2 separate regions of the Homo sapiens genome follow, and region 1 is linked to region 2. Evidence: promoter capture Hi-C in 16 types of primary human blood cells and fetal thymus (Javierre and others, 2016). All regions are on one chromosome and are shown on one strand. The core of a region is centred on a gene start or on the middle of the fragment in contact, and the rest is flanking DNA. Distances in the headings are between cores, read along the strand shown. Region 1 holds the start of RGR (retinal G protein coupled receptor). Region 2 holds the start of CERNA2 (competing endogenous lncRNA 2 for microRNA let-7b).

Region 1 (3,962 bases), core at 78-2,577, 73 kb before region 2:
AGGGAGTGGGATTAAAAAAACCTACAAATGAGGCACAATGTACGCTACTTGGGTGATGAGTGCACTAAAGTCCTAGCATTTGCCACGATGTAATTCATCTATGTAAACAAAAATCACTTGTATCCCCAAAGCTATTGAAATTTAAAACATATTTTAAATAAAATAAAAACCAAAGCATTGTGTATATAATGACATTTCTAGTCATTAAACATGAAATAAAAATGTAAATTTAAACCCCTTCCAAAAAATAAAGTGGTAAAATTTTATGGCATGTTTGAGGACCTGGAAGGATGCTAGATTGTAGGGTTCTCAGGAAAGGGAGACACGGGCTGGGGCCACCAGACAGTCGTGTCCAGAGCCTTCAGGACCAATCTAATGACTGTCACTTCCTCTCCATTGTCAGTTCTCATTAGGTGAGAAAACGTGCTGATGATTTCTCTGGGTCTGCTTTGAACCAAAGCTGCGTTCTCCATCAATTTAGCTTGGGCTGGCCCAGATTCAGGATTGACACTGTCTCTAGCTCTGGCCTCAGCGAGCATCTTAGGGATTCTAGGTTGAGGTAGGTACCTCGCAGACCCAGGTTGCCTCCAGAGGTGAAGTGCTTGGGCTCATAGGAGTAGACACAGTGAAAATAGTGGTGGGGCTGGAGAGGATGGGAGTGAATGAACTTAAATACCCTAGAGTCTATTTAGGCTAGCACTTTATACCCATTATCCCATTTAATCTTTACAACCACCCATTCGGAATGTCAAGGCATTGAGGGCAGAGAGCTGAAGGGACTTGGTTCCAGCCACACAAGAGCAGGAGGCAGAGCTGTCTGTCCCCAGAGCCTTTTGGGGGACTGATCTTATGTGGGATTCTCAGCAGGATTTCCAAGGAGTGGATTAAATTTTCTCCCGGCTGGAGGGACATGAAAAGTCCTAAAGCCTGGCTCTTGATCATCTCCTGGGCAGATGTCCCCTTTCAAAGTCCCTCCCTCCCTGACCCTTGCCTGGCTTCCTCTCTGCTCCCAGCGGGCAGTGTGCTGCACCTCACAGGTTCAATTGTCAGAACACCCCCCGAGTCCGGGCACAGAGGGGAAGGCAGCCAATGGGACCGGACACCCAGCTGGGTTTGGGGACCTCTCCTCTCCTTGCCAGCTCCACACTGGTGGCCTGGGTCCTCAGAACCCACTGGGCCCCCGCTGCACCCCAGGTTCTGCCTGGCTCACCTTCCACCAGTAGCACCATCCCCACAGCCAGCACCTCGAGCTCCCCGAAGCCAGTGGGCAGGGCACTGGTCTCTGCCATCCTCACTCTCCCTCACTGCCAGTGGCCCAGCTGTCTCTGGCTTCCCACAGCCAGGCCCTCCCTTTTAAAGGGCCATCCCATGTGCGTGGAGGCACATGCAGGTTATTATGTTGGACCTTGGGCTGTTTCTGGATGCCTCCCCGCTGCAAATGGTCCTCTTGGCCCAAGCAGAAGGAACCCATTCACGAGTTGGACAATGCAGCCTTTGTGAAGCCAGAATGGAGCCCTGTCTCATTCATTTCAGCCCCATTGCACAGGATTAAGGTCGGGGAATCCAAATGGTGTGTGGCTGAGAGCCTAATTGGAAAAGAGTTGCATAACCAGGGGAGGGGAGCAGGAGGAGGGATTTGAGCCGCAGCTGTTCCCAACAAGCCTGGTGCCTGTGTGTGTGTCCTCAGGCTCACATGAGTATACTCCAAAGCGCTGGGGAAAGGATGAGGCTTGGGAAGTCGCCTGCTGTCAGAGGAAGAACCCCATCTGGGACCAGAAAATGGGGTTGGGGTTCTGGTTCTGAATCTGCCACTAACTAGTTATGCGCCTTGGAGTGGGACCACTGGACTCTTCCGTTTACTTTTCTGCAATGTCAATGTCTTTTGTCTGTGGCCTTTATATAAGTCCTGGTTAGATATCACGAATATAAACCTCAGGGCTGCATTTCCTGTCTCCCATAGAGCACCTGAGCATAAAAAATGTCCTAGGACACTGTCTTAGAACAGAGGGGCTGCCTGCCGTCTTGTCAGTCTCCGACCCCGAACCCGCCCAGCCTTGCCGGCCCCACTAAGAGCTTTGGCTGCTACAAATGACTTCTTGATACACTGGCTCTTTATGCACTGTTATGCTCTGGCTCATGATAAAATTTACACCAGGAAATACTGATCTAGGACAACTTAGTTCATTTTCAGATAAAGAAACCAAGCTCCAGAGCACTATCAGCAACATAGCTAATATTGAGTGAGGTCAGGCCCTGTGCTAGGGGATCTTCTGATGAGTCCTACAACAACTCCATGAGTTAGATACCATTATCCTTTCCATTTTAGATGAGGAAACTGTGGCTAAAAACAGTTAAGAATCTGCCTGAGGCCATGCAGTAATTTATGGATGGAGCTGGAACAAAAGCCGATCTCCTATTCCTCAGGCTCAGGCATTTTTCAATGGCATCTTCTGACTCACCTGGTAGAGCAACCCACTCTGTTCCAGGAATGCCCACTTCCCAGGCCTTTCCTCTCATGAGTCCTCACTTACATCCAAGCCTAATCCCTCTGCAGGGCTGAGCTTATGGCTGCGCCCTCCAGAGCGTTCCCTGTTCTTTCTCAATTTCTTTTTTGTTTTTTTGTTTGTTTTTGAGATGGAGTCTCGCTCTGTCGCCCAGGCTGGAGTGCAATGGCGCAATCTCGGCTCACGCAACCTCTACCTCCCCAGTTCAAGCTATTCTCCTGCCTCAGCCTCCCGAGTAGCTGGGATTACAGGCATGTGCCACCATGCTCGGCTAATTTTGTATTTTTATTAGAGACAGGGTTTCTCCATGTTGGTCAGGCTGGTCTTGAACTCCCGACCTCAGGTGATCTGCTGGCCTTGGACTCCCAAAATGCTGGGATAACAGTCATGAGCCACCCTGCCTGGCCTTCTGTCTCAATTTCTACCTTATGGTGTTGGTTAATACATATGTCAGTCCTTTTTTCATGCCTTCGAGATCACAAAAGCCTTCATGAGAGGAGATAAAGCAGGGCAAGGCCAAGATTAAAGGGTAAAGTTCATTTGGGCAAAAGACACAAGGAGGAAGAAGCAGAGATGTGGGAACAGGCAAGCTGACGGCTGGGTTTGGGGAGGTGGAAGTATAGCTGGGAAGCACTGAGAAAATCCTACTGGCTGCATTGGAAGGAAGGAAAGAATGAGAAGCCAGTATTGTTGAAACAGACCTGGCTCCGAGCTAGGCATTTTATGTGTGCACTGGGGCCCCAGATATCTTTGCAGGTCATACCTCACTGGTCTAGGCCTGCCTGGAGCCACAGGCATGAAGGACTGGGGAACCTTCTAGAAAAGCCAAACAACATAGGTAGGGCATGCTGGACCAGAGAACAATGCCTCAGGGTCAAATGTGAAGAATGAATGAATGAGTCGACTGAGTGTCTACTGCTGGGAATCATCCCTGGTCAGTCCCCACTGGCATCTTGAGTAGATATGGTGGGGCGAGATAGGGTTAGGAGAGAATAAGTAAAAATTGAAATTAGTCTGGGTGCAGTGGCTCAGGCCTGTAATCCCAGCACTTTGGGAGACTGAGGTAGGAGGATCGCTTGAGGCCAGGAGTTTGAGACCATCCTGGGCAACATGGCAAGACCCTGACTGCAAAAAATAATTTTTTAAAAATAGCCAAACATGGTGGTGGTTGCCTGCAGTTCCAGCTACTTGCGAGGCTGAGGCAGGAGGATGGCTTGAGCTCAGGAGTTCGGGGCTACAGTGAGCTATGATTACACCATTGCACTCCACTCTGAGTGACAGAGCAACCCTGTCCCTATAAAGCAAAACAAAGCTTTATGGATGGAGAATTTCCAAAGGCCCTTATTAGAGGTTGGGGTCCTGTCTCCAAAAAAACCTGAAAGTGCCTTCTCTAAGACCTCTCTGAGCTACCTCTCTGGGGCCCTCCTTGGAGTAGGGCACCTTGAGGAGAGGGGTGCC
Region 2 (3,873 bases), core at 1-2,500:
GAATGTCTTTGAGTCGGCTTCCCATCTGTGAAATGGGCACAGGACTATCTCTCTCACAAGCCTGTATTGAGGCATGTATGAGAAGCCATCTGCACCAAGGTGCTCACACAGCTCTTAAAGGAGGTGGGGCCACAGGTGGACTTTGATGTTTAAGACAGTGATGAAATGAGAAGACACTTCAAGTACAGGGTCACCCTGAACAAGGCCTGGAAGAGAGGAGCCTCTGCCCAGGGCAGGCATGGGGGAAAGTCTGACCACAGGTGCAGGAGGCTCAGATGCCACCCATTCACTGGACACGTGACCTGGGCTGAGCCATGCGCTTGGCTCCAGGGACACAGAAGACACTGTGCCTCGCCTCAAGGAGCTCCTGTTGGTGGAGGAAGCTGTGCAGACAAGTGACTGTCTCACAGCATTGTAAGTGCTGTCTATACTGAAGGAAGGGGACGTAGGTTGCTCAGTCAGAAGGTGGGGGAGGGAGGGGACACTCTGCAGAGATGGAATAAGATTGGGTCGGAGATGGCCTGGCATGGTAGGCCAGGTCATGGTGGGCTTCCTGGACCAGCAGAGGAATCAGACTGGCAAAAGGGAGGCCGGGGGATCCTTCAGCCGGGTAGAGACTGATGACAGGAATGCTTTGGGCTCCTTTTCCATCAGAGTGGGTCTGAGTTCCCTTTAATAATGGTGCATGGGTGCCTGAACACTTGCTAGGCTCTGGCCTCAGATGGTGTCAGAGGGTTCAGAGCCCCTGGGCCTATGAGAGGTGGTGGGTAGGAGGAATATTTTTCGGAAGAAATTAGGATGTTTCCCATGCACCCTGATGAGCCTCTGCCTGGGCTGCTCTCAAACCTCCACTCCCAAACTGAGGGAAGAGAGATACCCTCTCATATTGTTTTATATTGTTTTATACTCAGTACCTCTTTTAAGAAAAAACAAGGAAGTAAAACCAAAGACAGGCAGCCCGGCGCCAGGCCTGAAACCAGGCCTGGGCCTGCCTGGACTAAACCCAGTAGTTAAAAATCAACTCATAACTTAAAAACCAATGTTATTCATAGATTCCAGACATTGTATAGAAGAACATTGTGAAACTCCCTGCCCTGTTCTGTTTCTCTCTGACCACCGGTGCATGCAGCCCCTGTCACGTACCGCCTGCTTGCTCAAATCAATCACGACCCTTTCATGTGAAATCTTTAGTGTTGTGAGCCCTTAAAAGGAACAGAAATTGTGTATTCAGGGAGCTCAGATTTGAAGGCAGTAGCTTGCCGATGCTCCCAGCTGAATAAAGCCCTGCCTTCTACAACTCAGTGTCTGAGAGGTTTTGTCTGCGGCTCACCCTGCTACATTTCTTGGTTCCCTGACTGGGAAACGAGGTGACTGACGGATGGCCGAGGCAGCCCCTTAGGCGGCTTAGGCCTGCCCTGTGGAGCATCCGTGAGGGGAACTCCGGCCAGCCTGAGTGACGTGATCCAAAGAGCGCTCCCGGGTAGGCAATTGCCCCAATGGAACGCCTTGCCAGAGCAGCGTGTAGCAGGCCCCCACGGAAGATTAACACAGTGGCTGAACACCAGGAAGGAACTGGCACTTGGAGTCCGGACATCTACAACTTGGTAAGACTAGTCTTTGGAACTTGCCCCACTCCATCTGAGTGGAAGCGTGGCCTGATCACCCACAGTGTGCCTGTATTGGCATTTTGTTCTGGTTTTGACTTGGCTTGAGTTGGTAAGACTAGTCTTTGGAACTTGCCCTACTCCATCTGGGTGGAAACATGGCCTGATCACCCACGGCATGCCTGCATTGACACTTTTGTTCTGGTTTTGACTTGACTTAGATTGTGTGATACTTTGGTTTTAGTTTTGACCTGGCTTGGATTTCTGGATACTCTGATTTTGGTTTGGTGTAAACTGCAAAAGTGTGTGTGTGCCCTTTTTACCTGTTTTTTGTTTTGTGGTGTGTGTGTGGTGTGAACATGGTGTTTTGTCTTGAAGAAGCATGGGTCAGGCAAAAATAAGCCCACCCCACTAGGAACTATGTTAAAAAAAATAAAAATTTCAAGAAAGAATTTAAGGGAGATTACGATGTTACTGTGACACCAGGAAAACTTAGAACTTTGTGTGAAATAGACTGGCCAGCATTAGAGTGGGTTGGTCATCAGAAAGAAGCCTGGACAGGTCCCTTGTTTCAACGGTATGACACAGGGCAACCTGTAAGCCAAGGCACCCAGACCAGTTTCCATACATAGACAGTTACAGCTGGTTTTAGACCCCCTTCCCCTCCACAGTAGTTAAAAGAACAGCAGCATAAGCAGTTGGGAGAGGCAAGGAAAGACCAGCAGAGAAAAAAAAAAAAGAGGCCATCTATACCAATTCTAAGTTAATTTAGACTAAACAAGGTCTTATTAATAGCAAAGGATAATTGAAATCCCAAACTTACAAGGTTTTCAACAAAAGTGAAGTTTGCTAAAAGTTAACAGCATAACATATATTGTGGTAACTTCTAATCTTGTGGCCTTAGAGAGTCTAGTCCAAAGACATAAAGAAAGTTCGCTTTAAAAAAAGGAATGGTTATCTTCAAAAAAAAAAGCGGGGGGGAGGCAGAATTTATGTAAAAAGAGTGTTATATGGTAAATTCTTGTCCTGAAATAAATTAACTGGTTGTTTAAAGAAAAAAAATGTTTGTAATAAGTCAGAAAGTTGAGGCATGTTGAAGAATTGTCGGCGAAAGTTGTGAAAGAAAAAATGTTATAAAAAAATTTATGCAAAAAAGCCTCCTGAGTACTACTATTGAAGAAACAGTTTATGTGCAAGGTGTATAAAAATAGTAAAATATACCTTTGGTAAAAAGATTATAAGGAGGCATAAGAATGTGGATTTTTACCAACATTAAAAGGTTAAAAAATTATTGTTTTGAAAGTTTAAGCAAGTTTTAAAACTTTAATTGTAAAGAAAATTCTGTGTATAAACATATTAGCTAAAGTTAAAAAGGTATCATCCAGCTTTTCTGTGAACTGGACATTAAAGTAAAAATGCAACAGGTTTTTCTTAAAGCATCAACCTGCTCTTTAACAAAAATTATAAAAGGTTAAAAAGAGTCTATAAAATCTCACCTTATGGTCAAACATGAAAAATTGGATAAATATATCTACAAGGTTTTATTAAAATTAAGTTTAACATTAATAACACACTAATATAAAGGTAAAATTTAGCTTATCTGGTATAAAAATCATACAAGAAGCATTATTAAATATAAAATGGTGTTTAACTTTCTTTGGTCTAAAAACTAATAAAAATAGGTACTAAAGGAAACATTCCTTTTACTAGAGGATCATAGAAGTTAAAGACTTAAAACAAACTTTGGAAATTAAGACAGCATACCAAGATGCAAATGCCTGGTTGAAATGGATCAAATATTCCATCTGCACATTAAACAAAAGCAATTGTTATGCTTGTGCACATGGCAGGCCAGAGGCCCTGATTGTCCCCCTTCCACTAAGGTGGTCCTCCAGTCGACCAGGCGTGGGCTGCATGGTAGCTGTTTTCCAGGATTCTACAGCCTGGAGTAATAAGTCATGCCAAGCTCTCTCTGCTATATCCTGAAGTCCCTGAGGGTCAGCCCCCGAAGGCCATCCAGCTTCTGTCTCCCAACGCTAAGTTCACTTCTTGTCTCTCGTGGCAGGGAGGAGACTTAGCATTCCTTGGAGACCTGAAGGGATGCAGTGAGCTTAAGAATTTTCAAGAGCTTATCAATCAGTCAGCCCTTGTTCATCCCCGAGTGGATGTGTGGTGGTATTGTGGTGGACCTTTACTGGGCACTCTGCTGAATAACTAGAGTGGCACTTGTGCTTTAGTCCATTTGGCTATCCCTTTTACCCTGGCACTT

What was found. Contacts are between HindIII fragments. The CHiCAGO score rates a contact against its expected background, and 5 or more counts as called.
Region 1: the fragment with the promoter of RGR here is called in contact with the fragment with the promoter of CERNA2 in region 2 in 1 of 17 cell types (neutrophils); the score reaches 5.0 in neutrophils.

What each region holds. Positions count from the first base shown.
Region 1 is chr10:84,242,418-84,246,379 of GRCh38, reverse strand. It overlaps RGR (retinal G protein coupled receptor), which reads right to left and starts at 1,327. Exons shown (of 7, transcript NM_001012720.2): 1 at 1,211-1,327. The coding sequence starts at 1,289. RefSeq lists an enhancer at 682-1,181. The HindIII fragment of the contact is 12,009 bases long and covers 1-3,818 here.
Region 2 is chr10:84,169,453-84,173,325 of GRCh38, reverse strand. It overlaps CERNA2 (competing endogenous lncRNA 2 for microRNA let-7b), which reads left to right and starts at 1,250. Exons shown (of 2, transcript NR_134505.1): 1 at 1,250-1,604. RefSeq lists enhancers at 6-55, 876-1,115, 1,466-1,515, 1,430-1,931. The HindIII fragment of the contact is 12,565 bases long and covers 1-3,873 here.